2 separate regions of the Homo sapiens genome follow, and region 1 is linked to region 2. The links are contacts of gene promoters, found by promoter capture Hi-C in blood cells and fetal thymus (Javierre and others, 2016). All regions are on one chromosome and are shown on one strand. The core of a region is centred on a gene start or on the middle of the fragment in contact, and the rest is flanking DNA. Distances in the headings are between cores, read along the strand shown. Region 1 overlaps SRSF4 (serine and arginine rich splicing factor 4). Region 2 holds the start of TRNAU1AP (tRNA selenocysteine 1 associated protein 1).

Evidence for each region. Contacts are between HindIII fragments. The CHiCAGO score rates a contact against its expected background, and 5 or more counts as called.
Region 1: a fragment that was not itself captured here is called in contact with the fragment with the promoter of TRNAU1AP in region 2 in 5 of 17 cell types (total CD4 T cells, non-activated CD4 T cells, total CD8 T cells and 2 more); the score reaches 6.4 in total CD4 T cells.

Annotation. Positions count from the first base shown.
Region 1 is chr1:29,169,301-29,175,408 of GRCh38, reverse strand. The region is part of intron 1 of SRSF4 (serine and arginine rich splicing factor 4); the gene reads left to right. It also overlaps a transcript of MECR not described here. Among named protein-coding and RNA genes, the nearest start is that of SRSF4, 9.5 kb to the left of the region's middle. The HindIII fragment of the contact is 921 bases long and covers 4,028-4,948 here.
Region 2 is chr1:28,551,622-28,558,398 of GRCh38, reverse strand. TRNAU1AP (tRNA selenocysteine 1 associated protein 1) reads right to left here and starts at 5,314. Exons shown (of 9, transcript NM_017846.5): 1 at 5,262-5,314; 2 at 4,662-4,759. The coding sequence starts at 5,288. RefSeq lists silencers at 4,008-4,302, 5,235-5,374 and enhancers at 5,525-5,584, 5,308-5,602. The HindIII fragment of the contact is 4,615 bases long and covers 4,929-6,777 here.

The sequences.
Region 1 (6,108 bases), core at 3,239-5,738, 620 kb before region 2:
TTTTTTTTGAGATGGAGTCTCTGTCTGTTGCCCAGGCTGGAATGCAGTGGCACAATCGTGGCTCACCTCCCAGGTACAAGCGATTCTGCTGCCTCAGCCTCCCAAGTAGCTGGGATTACAGGTGTGCACCACCACCCCCGGCTAATTTTTGTATTTTTTGTAGAAACGGGGTTTCACCACGTTGGCCAGCCTGGTTTTGAACTCCTGACCTCAAAGTGATCTACCTCACAAAGTGCTGGGATTACAGGCGTGAGCCACCACACCTGGCCTATTATAATTTTTTTATATGGAGAAGGACCAAAATAATCCAAAGATGTAACTCTTTGCATTTTGGGTTTTTTAGTTTTACTTTTTTTCACATACAGGTATGGGCATGTGCACGCACGCACTCTGTCTCTCTTCTTTTCTTTTTTTTTTTTTTAATTAAAAAACCCACCGGCCAGTTGTGGTGGCTCACGCCTATAATCCCAACACTTTGGGAGGCCAAGGCTGGCAGATCACAAGGTCAAGAGATTGAGACCATCCTGGCCAACATGGTGAAACCCTGTCTCTACTAAAAATACAAAAATTAGCTGGGCATGATGGCGCACGCCTGTAGTCCCAGCTACTCAGGAGGCTGAGGCAGGAGAATTGCTTGAACCCAGGAAGTGGAGGTTGCAATGAGCCTAGATCGGGCCACTGCACTCCAGCCTGGTGATGGAGCAAGACTCCATCAAAAAAAAAAAAAAAAAAACCTATCTCCTGCACAGTCTCTCCCTTTTCTTATGCCTCTCCTGACTCCTTTTTTTTTTCCAAACTTGGAATCATACTATAAGTTATTTTATAATTTGCTTGTTTCACCCTAACAGCCTGATCCTTTTCCTTTGTCATTAAGTATTCTCCTACAACCTGGTTTCTAATGGCTACATAGTACTCCAACATACATATGTTATTTAATGGACATAATCAGAACCATGTTGCAAGGCATTTAGGTTATCTTTATTTTTGTACTATTTTATGCATGTATAATACTGTTGAATATCCTTTATATGAATTTTTGTATACATTTCTTTTTGCCTTAGGGCAGATTCCTGCAAGTAGACTTTGGGAGTCAAAGCATATACACATTTTAATGCTTTTGCTAGCTATTCCATTACTCGGTAAATTAATATTTACGTTTCCACCTGCGGTGTTTAAGAGCTCCTATTTTTTTTTTTCTTTTTTCTTTTTTTTTTTGAGATGGGGTCTCAATCTGTCTCCCAGGCTGCAGTGCAGTGCAGTGGCATGATCTCAGCTCACTGCAACCTCTGCCTCCCGGGTTCAAGCAGTTCTCCTGCCTCAGCCTCCCAAGTAGCTGGGATTACAGGCGCCTGCCACCACACCCCGCTAATTTTTGTATTTTTAGTAGAGACACAGTTTCACCTTGTTGGCCAGGCTGTTCTCAAACTCCTGACCTCAGGTGATCCGCCCACCTCATCCTCCCAAAGTGCTGGGATTACAGGCGTGAGCCACCGCACCCACCAAGAGTTCCTACTTTTCTGAACAGTGCCCTTTATTATAATTTTTTAAACTAATTTTTTCTAATTAAAATGTTTAGAATTATATATGAGGAAATCATTTGGCAGCCTTTAAGGCTTGTCTATTTAGCCTATCAAGCATAACAAATTCAAGAACTTTTTGGACCAGGTGCGGTGGCTCACACCTGTAATCCCAGCACTTTTGGGAAGCTGAGGTGGGCGGATCACTTGAGGTCAGGAGTTTGAGACCAGCCTGGCCAGCATGGTGAAACCCCGTCTGTACTAAAAAGACAAAAATTAGCTGGGTATGGTGGCACTTGCTGTAATCCCAGCTACTTAGGAGGCTGAGGCAGGAGAATCGCTAGAACCCGGGAGCCGAGATTGCACCATTGCACTCCAGCCTGGGCAACAGAGTGAGACTCCATCTCAAAAAAAAAAAAAAAAAAGAAAAAAAAAAAACAACTTTTTAGGCCAGGCGTGGTGGCTCACACCTGTAATCCCAGCACTTTGGGAGGCCGAGGCGGGCGGATCACGAGGTCAGGAGATCGAGACCATCCTGGCTAACATGGTGAAACCCTATCTCTACTAAAAAAAAAATACAAAAAAAATTAGCCGGGCCTGTTGGCCTGCGCCTGTAGTCCCAGCTACTTGGGAGGTTGAAGTAGGAGAATGGCGTGAACCCGGGAGGCTGAGCTTGCAGTGAGCCGAGATCGCACCACTGCACTCCAGCCTGGATGACAGAGCAAGACTCTGTCTCAAAAAAAAAAAAAAAAAAAAAAAAAGCCTTTTTGACTCATTAGAGAATAAATGTAGGTTAATTGTAGATCATTTAGATATTATGAAAGCATAAAGTGAAAAGTATCATTAAGCATCCTTTTAAGATGGGTGAGGTTTTACGTGCAATTTTGTGTCACGCTTTTTTTACTTAATTTATCTCATGTATTTTCTATTACATTAAAATCTTCCTTATTAATGGCTTCATAAAATCCATTGTATGGCAATATTATGACTTACCCAACCATTCCTCTTATATTGTCTACCTTTTTTTTGGTCTCCTAATTCTTGCTGTTATAAGTAACCCTGTGATGGGTATTATGTGCATAAAACTTTGTTTGCATTTTTATTATCCCTGAGTACATATGGATTCCATGAAATAAAATTCATGTGTCACAGCAGGAGTGAACATATTCAAGTATCTCAGTGCATATAACCAAATAACTTTCCAGAAAAGCTACACCAGTTACACTTAACACCCGCAGTGTATGAGCATGCCCGTGTGATGGGCACTTCAACAGCATGGAGTACCCCTGTTGTGTTTGCTGGCCAGGCGTGGTGGCTCACGTCTGTAATTCCAGCACTTTAGGAGGCCAAGGCGGGCGGATCACCTGAGGTCAGAAGTTCGAGACCAGCCTGACCAACATGATGAGACCCTGTCTCTACTGAAATTACAAAAATTAGCTGGGCATGGTGGTAGGCTCCTGCAATCCTAGCTACTCGGGAGGCTGAGGCAGGAGAACCGCTTGAACCCGGGAGGCGGAAGTTGCAGTGTGAGATCACACCATTCCACTCCAGCTTGGGTGACAGAGTGAGACTCTGTCTCAAAAATAAAAAATAAAAATAAAAGATGCTAATTTACCAAGTGAAAAATAATCAGGAAGTTTTTCTTGAATGAATAATAAATAGAGATAGGACTATGAATTAAGTAGCATTCTGTCATTGTTTTATTAGTAATATAACTATTACAAATGTGATCAAATTTTTTTTTATTAAAAGTCACTTTTTAAAGTCAACTTACCCCCCAAAAAAGTGTATTATTTTTTTCCCCCAATATATGGGGAATTTAATTTTTTTCTGTCATTTTGAAAAATCAATGCCAAGAGATAATACCATATTGAGATTTTTGACCAAATGTTAACAGCGTAAATTGCCCTGGTTCAAGACCTCCACTCCTTGGTTCTTGGTCCCTTCAGTTTGTGGTATGAATAAACATCATTTGTAATTATTTGACTAAGTCATTTAAAATCCCTGTTCTTCAGTTTAATATACTGTTTTGCTCCTCCTTTCTCATTGAGGTACTGTATGAATTTAAGGGCCATACGAAGTATTTGTCCCTTCTTAAAAGATAGGCACAGGATATAGACTCGGTAATAAAATGTGGTTTGGGTTTCTAGTATTTTTTTATGCTTCCAGGTACCCAGAACCGCAAATTTTACTTTGAGCTCCTCAGAAGAAAGGTGCTCCAGGCATCTGAGAGAATACCGTTGGGGTGATACTTACAAATTTGTAAGCTAACACTGAAATCTTAAAACTTCCGAAAATATTAATGCATTTGTATGACTTATTTTTCAACTGAGTATGTCAAAGTACTTTATGAACAAGTGTTGTCCCTAGTTTGTACTGATGGGGAAACTGAGGCATGGGGTGATAAGGTGACTGGCCCAAGGTTACAAAATGAGTTATTGACAACTCCGGAAATAGAAGATTTTTTAAATTCCCATACTAGATACATGTGGGCATTGACATTCAAAGCTTCCCTCATGCTATTTCCTTTAGTCCTGTCCTTTGGGGATTGCCTCTGAGGGTGAGAGGGTAGTTCAGGTTTCCGGGCTTGTTCAGCCTTTAGTCTCTGTAGAGGCTTCCAGCAAGCTGACAAGTTACTGCCAAAAGTGAGACAGATGGTATTTTTTATGATGTTGTCCTTAGTTGGAGACTGCTAGTGATTCTCCTCCTCAGGCTACTCTTTGAAAAGCTGTAAGGTGGTATCAGCTTTATCGTGGTTGGCTGAGGAAGGATTTGTACAAGTAAATGTTCTCTGCCTTATTGTCATTCCTAGGGCCGTCTGGTCTTATAGTACCCTGAAGGTGAGGGATTAGATTATGCTCTGAATTTGTATGCCCATAGTTTGAGGAAATGTTTTACTTGAGTTTTCTGTGTGTTGAGATGAAAGTCTCCCAGGCTAAAGATTTCTGAACTGCACGCAATGTCTGAAGAAGCGCTTGAAAGGCACTTTATTTCTCCCAGGTCCCCAACCATGGGTTTAGGTTTTTATGCCAGAAAGGGGACCTTCATGAACAAAGACCCCCAAGACCTAGAGAGAAGAGGAAGTCTGAAAGAGGGAGGTTTGAATTCAGCCTTCAGGAATGAAGAGGGCAGACAGAGCAGGAGGCTCAGGCAAGGGAGTCAGGAACCACAGACCAGAAACATGGACTTGGAAAGGTTTTCATGTAATTGAAATGAAGCTATTGATCCATCCATTTTAAAAGAATTTGAAAAATTCATTAAAATACTTAATTAGTGGCATCCACTAATTAATAAAAGCATAGGGAGTGGCATCTTTAACCAAAAATGAAAATGAAGAAACAGACTCCAGCCCAGGGACCAGGGGCGATTATGAGGGACATGGTGCCTCATACAGCCAAGATGATCCAAGAGGCATCATCTTTAATGAAGCTTTAACACCTGGCAGCCTGCTCATTGTGTTGTTTAAGAGGTAAGTATGAACTGGTTTTGTTTGTAGCTTTTGTGTGGAATCAGGTAGTGCTGTCTGCAGAGTGTAAACCTTTATTTCTTTAAGTAGGAATAACAGATAAAGTAATTCTATATTAAATCCCAAGAGTTTTATTCTAAATTGGTAATGTGACTTTCATCTCTCGAGTTTTTTCAAATCGTTTTTAATTTGTGGTTGAGTCTTCACGAACTTCTTGTCATCAGGCAATAGTTGATTCCCCTTTTTTGAAAGCTTTCAATTTCATTTATCCTTAGTGTTGAAAAGTGTCAGAAAATTGAAATGGACACAGATGATTGTATCTGCCCTCCCTTTCAGGAAAGCCATGTTGACTTTAAAATATCAAAAAAGAAAGTTCAGTTATGATTGCAGGGGGTAATGATAGTTTGATCCACAAACTATTTGCAGTGTAAAAGTGAAATACCTTAGCTGACTTAGTTCATTTTTGAAAGTTTTGAATAGCTAAAACAAAGTTGGCAAATAGGCTCATAGAGTAGTTACAGAGTAAGACTAAATTCATATTTGATGCAGATTCCTCTCTACCTCCCATTCTGGGAGGATTTAGTTTTACTGTTTGGTGTTTAGGATAATGATTGTTCTGTTTTTCTCACCCTACTATGTGAATATATATTCTGTTAGAGATGGGCTGTTATCTGCAATGTGGACTCAATACCATGGGCTTGAGTTTGGTTAGTTCATCATTAGAGATTTTTTTTCAGCAGTTGGTTTACTTTATGAGAAAGGATCATGAGTTTAATTTTCCCACTGATATATTTGTGTTCTCATTGCTGAGATATAAGTTTCTTAATGATTTGTTACCTTTTTCTATTTTCCTAGACTAGTATTAAAATTTTGATGGCATATGGGTTTGGTTCCACTTGTAGAGAATAAATGTTCACAACTTACTGGTATTAGCACACACACATCACATGCAGAAATGGTGTTTTCTTGCCACTTACTCTTTCTCATAAGATGCTTATATTCCTGTGGGCATTTGTCTTCCACACTACAGCACATAATTTGATGAAACTGATTTTCTGTGCAAGAGCTTGTGTTTCTCCAACTCTGGTTTTATGGACCACTTTTCATTGGTATATAGGAGGCGGT
Region 2 (6,777 bases), core at 4,065-6,564:
AAAAAAATATACGAAAATTAGCTGGGTGGGGTGGTGTGTGCCTGTAATCCCAGCTACTCGGGAGGCTGAGGCACAAGAATTGCTTGAACCCGGAGGGAGAGGTTGCAGTGAGCCAACATCACGCCACTGCACTCCAGCCTGGCAACACAGCCAGACTCCATCTCAAAAAAAAAAAAAAAAAAATACAAAAATTAGCAGGGCGGGCTGGGCACAGTGGCTCACGCCTGTAATTCCAACACGTTGGGAGGCCAAGGCGGGTGGATCAGGAGGTCAGGAGTTCTGACCAACATGGTGAAACCCTGTCTCTACTAAACAAAAAAAAAAAAAAAAAAAAAATTAGCCAGGCATAGTGGCACATGACTGTAATCCCAGCTACTCAGGAGGCTGAGGCAGGAGAACTGCTTGAATTTGGGAGGTGGAGGTTGCAGTGAGTCGAGATCATTCCACTGCACTCCAGCCTGGGCGACAGAGACTCTGCCTCAAACCAAAAAAAAAAAAATTAGCTGGGTGTTGGCCGGGAGCGGTGGCTCACGCCTGTAATCCCAGAACTTTGGGAGGCCAAGGTGGGTGGATCACGAGGTCAAGAGATCGAGACTATCCTGGCCAACATGGTGAAAACCTGTCTGTAATAAGAATACAAAAATTAGCTGGGCATGGTGGTATGTGCCAGTAGTCCTAGCTACTCGGGAGGCTGAGGCAGGAGAATGGCTTGAACCCGAGAGGTGCAGATTGCAGTGAGCTAAGATTGCGCCACTGCACTCCTGCTTGGTGACAGAGCAAGACTCTGTCTCAAAAGAAAACAAAACAAAACAAAACACCAAGATTATAGAAAAGGAGAAAAGATAAGACCCAAGGAAAAATAATATGTAATATAGTCTGGGTGACAAGAGCGAAACTCTGCCTCAAAGTAAAAAAAAAAAAAAAAAAAAGAAACATGTAAGAAACAAGAGTTCCATATCTTATTTCTTTTCTTTTTTTTGAGACAGAGTCTCACTTTGTCGCCCAGGCTGGAGTGCAGTGGTGTGATCTCCGCTCGCTGCAAGCTCCACCTCCCGGGTTCACGCCATTCTCCTGCCTCAGCCTCCCGAGTAGCTGGGACTACAGGCGCCCGCCACCATGCCTGGCTAATTTTCTTGTATTTTTAGTAGAGACGGGGTTTCACTGTGTTAGCCAGGATGGTCTCGATCTCCTGACCTCGTGATCCGCCTGCCTCGGCCTCCCAAAGTGCTGGGATTACAGGTGTGAGCCACTGTGCCTGGCCCATATCTTATTTCAATAAACAGTAAGGTTGGTCCCAGTGGCTCATGCCTGTAATCCAGCACTTTGGGAGGCTGAGGCGGACAGATCACCTGAGGTCAGGAGTTCGAGGCTAGCCTGGCCAACACAGTGAAATCCCATCTATACTAAAAATAGAAAAAATTAGGCCGGGCGCAGTGGCTCACGCCTGTAATCCCAGCACTTTGGGAGGCTGAGGCAGGCAGAGGTCAGAAGATTGAGACCATCCTGGCTAACACAGTGAAATCCCATCTCTACTAAAAATACAGAAAATTAGCTGGATGTGGTGGCACACGGCTGTAGTCCCACCTACTCAGGAAGCTGAGGCAGGAGAATCGCTTGAACCTGGGAGGCAGAGGTTGCAGTGAGCTGAGATCGCACCACTGCACTCCTGCCTGGGTGACAGAGCGAGACTCCGTCTCAAAAAACAAACAAACAAAAAAAATGAGCTGGGCGTGGTGGCAGGTGCTTGTAATCCCAGCTACTCAGGAGTCTGAGAGAGGAGAAGGGCTTAAACCCAGGAGGCGGAGGTTGCAGTGAGCCAAGATGGTGCCATTGCACTTCAGCCTGGGCAACAGAGGGAGACTATGCCTCAGAAAAAAAAAAAAAAAAAAGATTAAAATGTGAGAATCTATGCCAGTGTTTTACTTATTTATTTTTGCAACAAAGTTTCCCTCTGTCACCCAGGCTGGAGCACAGTGGCACAATCTCGGCTCACTGCAACCTCTACCTCCTGGGTTCAAACGATTCTCCTTCCTCAGCCTCTCAAGTAGTTGGAATTACAGGTGTGTCTCACCACACCTGGCTAATTTTTGTATTTTTTTAGTAGAGACAAGGTTTCACCATGTTGTCCAGGCTGTTCTCAAATTCCTGACCTCAAGTGATCTGCCCACCTCAGCCTCCCAAAGTGCTGGGATTACAAGTGTGAGCTACCGTGCCCAGCCTATGCCAGTGTTTTAAAAAGTAGAAAGGGGCCGGGCGCGGTGGCTCACACCTGTAATCCCAGCACTTTGGGAGGCCAAGGCAGGCGGATCACGAGGTCATGAGATTGAGACCATCTGGCTAACATGGTGAAACCCCATCTCTACTAAAAATACAAAAAATTAGCCTGGCGTGGTGGCGGGCGCCTGTAGTCCCAGCTACTTGGGAGGCTGAGGCAGGAGAATGGCTTGAACCCAGGAGGTGGAGCTTGCAGTGAGCCGAGATCGTGCCACTGCACACCAGCCTGGGCCACAGAGCAAGACTCCGTCTCAAAAAAAAAAAAAAGAAAAAAAAATGAGAAAGGTTACAGAATGAATTTTCATACCAGTAGCTGATTATCTGGGGTTTTCTGCTTAGAAGAGCAAGAAGAGAAATATTTAGGTGGGCACGATCTACCAGTCAGAAAAACCTTTTCCTAGGTAATGGGGTTCTGAATACACAAAGTATCTTTCAAATGTCTCATCTCTATTTTTAAACCATTTGATGTTTTAGCAAGCCACATGTAGTAGAGTACCGAGAAAAGAGTGGCTGCTTGGAGAATGGCGTGAACCCAGGAGGCGGAGCTTTCAGTGAGCCAAGATCGCGCCACTGCACTCCAACCTGGGTAGTGACAGAGCGAGACTCCGTCTCAAAAAAAAAAAAAAAAGGAAAAGAGTAGCTGCTTGATAAACACTGACAAATTGATAATTCCCTAAGGAAAACTAAGACCTCAAAGAGAAAGAAGAACATGGAGGCAATAGAGAACCTCTATCTGAAAATACGCATTTGGTTATGTTTACTTATTTATTGTCTCATTCCCCACTAGAATGTAGTAAACTCCATGAGCAGGGGCTATATCTGGATTATTTCAGCCAGGAATGTATAACAGTAGAACACAGTAGTATCTCCACAGATAATTTTTTTTTTTTTTTTGAGATGGAGTTTCGCTCTTATTGCCCAGGCTGGAGTGCAATGGCGCGATCTCGGCTCACTACAACCTCTGCCTCCCAAGTTCAAGCGATTCTCCTGCCTCAGCCTCCCAGGTAGCTGGGATTACAGGCATGCACCACCACGCCTGGCTAATTTTTGGTAGAGACAGGGTTTCTCCATGTTGGTCAGGCTGGTCTCCAACTCCTGACCTCAGGTGATCCACCCTTCTCGCCTCCCGAAGTGCTGGGATTACAGGCATGAGGCACCGCACCCATCCTCCACAATTTTTTAAATGAATGGCATAAGAGTTAAGGGCCCTCATGAGCTTTCAGGATAGACTCGAATTCAAGTCCTGACTTGTTATTTATTATAACTCTTTTTTTTTTTTTTTGAGACAGAGTCTCAGCTGTCGCCCAGGCTGGAGTGGAGTGGAGCGATCTCGGCTCACTGCAAGCTCCGCCTCCTGGGTTCACGCCATTCTCCTGCCTCAGCCCCCCAAGTAGCTGAGACTACAAGTGCCCGCCACCATGCCCAGCTAATTTTTTTTGTATTTTTAGTAGAGATGGGGTTTCACCGTGTTAGCCAGGATGGTCTCAATCTCCTGACCTCGTGATCCGGCCTGCCTCGGCCTCCCAAAGTGCTAGGATTACAGGCGAGAGCCACTGCGCCCGGCTATTTATTGTAACTCTTCAAGTTATTAAGCCTCTTCATAATAGTATTTACCTACCTCAGAAGTTTCTGAGGTTTTAAGGAGATAATGGATGTAAACTGCTTATTACTCAGCAGATCGTAATCTGACTATACTTACTGAGCATATGCTATATGCCATACACTGTCCTAATGATGAATGTGAATTAACTCATTTAATCCTCACCATAACTCTAGGAGGTAGGTGCTGTTATTTCCATTTTTATACTCAAAGTGAATGAGACAGAGCAGTTAAGTAACTTACCCAAGGTCATAGAGTAGAAATAGCTTTCAAACCCAGTCTCGCTTGAGTCCTGCGTTTTTTGTTTTTTTGTTTTTTTTTTTTTTGAGACATTGTTTTGCTCTTGTTGTCCAAGCTGAAGTACAGTGGCACGATCTCAGCTCACTGCAACCTTCGCCTCCCGGGTTCAAGTGATTCTCATGCCTCAGCCTCCGGAGTAGCTGGGGTTACAGGTGCCTGCCACCACACCCGGCTAATTTTTGTATTTTTAGTAGAGACGGGGTTTCACCATGTTGGCCAGGCTGGTCTCAAACTCCTGACCTCAGGTGATCCACCCACCTCAGCCTCCCAAAGTGCTGGGATTACAGGTGTGAGTCACAACGCCTGGCAAGTCCTACCCTTAAGCTACATGCCATCCTTCCACTCATTGGGACCTCAAAATGTTAGCTGTTATAATTTTACAGTGACTATTACTAGGGGTAGTGAGAAGCCATGACTACGATGTTTACATTCTCGTACATGACAGCTGCAACGAGATGTATTAAGAGAGACCTGAGATGAGACTTACCCAGTGAGGCGGTTTCGGATAATTTTGACGCTCATTACGGTCTCCCCCATGGTGGCAAAGGCTCTGGAGATGAAGTTCTCATCCATGTAGGGTTCCAGCTGCGTAAAAACAAGAGCACAGCGGCTCAGGCCGGCGGCCGGGCTTCCCACTCCGGGTTCCAGAGCCCCTCCCGTTCAGCCCAGGGCTGGCTACGCGCCGCTGGGGGAGCGAGGGGCGAGGTTCGCCTCCACTGAGCGGCCTGAAACCCCAGCTCTTTTGGTTCAAGCTTGCCCCGCTTTAGGGAGCCTCCCCTTGGACCTAGAAACCCCACTCCTCCGGTCCCAGAACAGCGCGCCTCAGTCCTTGGATTGCTCCCATTCTATGTCCCCAAAGCACCACCTTTCCCTCCCACGAACCCAGGTGGGGCCCCAGGACCCCTAGCCTCACGGACTCAGCCTCTTCACTTAGATGCTGGAACCCGCTTCTGTGTCACCAAAAAGAACCCCCGTCACACGTCTCCCCTTTCTGGGATCCCAAGTCCCCTCCCACTCAGATCCTTCCTCTCTCGCGAAACCGAGATGCTTCCTTGTCTTCAGACCCCGGACGGCTGCCCTCACTCACGTCGCCCATCCACAGGCTGGCCGCCATACCCGCGCACCGGGGTGGGGCTTTGCGGGCGGGGCTCTGCGGGCGGGGCTCGAAGGCCCGCGCGGGCGCCAATCCTGGCTGCGGAGACCGCTACAGAGCATGCGCCTCCGACGGCTTCTGCGCAGGCTCCCGAGCGCAGCGGCCCGGGTCGGGCAGTGTGTTCAGCTCCGGGTTTTTCCTGCAACCCACTGGGCGCTAGGCTTCCGGATCGCGGTGGGCGGAGTTCAGGCTGGAATGGGGCGGGCCAGATACCACCTGGCCCAGGCGGCTGGGTTACTTGGGTTTATTTCTGACTTTATATATTTAGAAAACAAACAAAACTACACACACACACTCGTCTGACTTTATATAGAAAACAAAACCACACACACACAGACACATATAATTACAACATTAATATATGCTCGTTAGGGCTGGGCACGGTGGCTCACGCCTGTAATCCCAGCACTTGAGGAGGCCGAGGCGGGCGGATCACGAGGTGAAGAAATCGAGACCATCCTCGCCAACAGGGGGAAACCCCCTCTCTACTAAAAGTACGAAAATTAGCGGGCGTGGTGGCGAGCGCTGGTAGTCGCAGCTACTCGGGAGACTGAGGCAGGAGAATCGCTTAAACCCAGGGGGCAGAAGTTGCAGTGAGCCGAGATAGCGCCATTGCACCGCAGCCTGGTGACAGAGCAAGACTCCATATATATACATACACACACACACACACATACACATATATATACACATATATACACATATACACACATAATACACATATACACATATATACACACATACACATATATATACATATATACACACACACACACACATATATATGTATGCTCGTTACTTGGGTTAATTTCTGACTTTACATATTTAGAAAACAAACAAGGCCGGGCGCGGTGGCTCACGCCTGTAATCCCAACACTTTGGGAGGCCGAGGTGGGCAGATCACGAGGTCAGGAGATCGAGACCATCCTGGCCAACATGGTGAAACCCCGTCTCTACTAAAAATACAGAAATTAGCCGGGTATGATGGTGTGCACTTGTAGTCCCAGCTACTCAGGTGGCTGAGACAGGATAATCACTTGAACCCGGGAGGCAGAGGCTGCAGTGAGCCGAGATCGCGCCACTGCACTCCAGCCTGGGCGACAGAGTGAGACTCTGTCTCAAATTAAAAAAAAAACAAAAAACAAAAAACATACACACGTACACACACACACAAACACACACATAATTACAACATTAATATATGCTCGTTGTAAAAAACTGCAGATACAAGTGCATCCAAAAAAGTGAAAATATCCCTCCGGACAACCCGGTTCCACTACCTCCCTATTGTTACCAGGGGTTCTTAGGCTCTCAATCCAACAGAAATTAACATGAGGCCAAAAAAGTTTTCCCAGACAAGTCTTCATTGGAGCTTATGCCTGGGTATAAGGGAGGCAGCACAAGAGAGCGAGAATTCCCTGACTCTCCGAAAAGAGCTGGTTGAGATGTT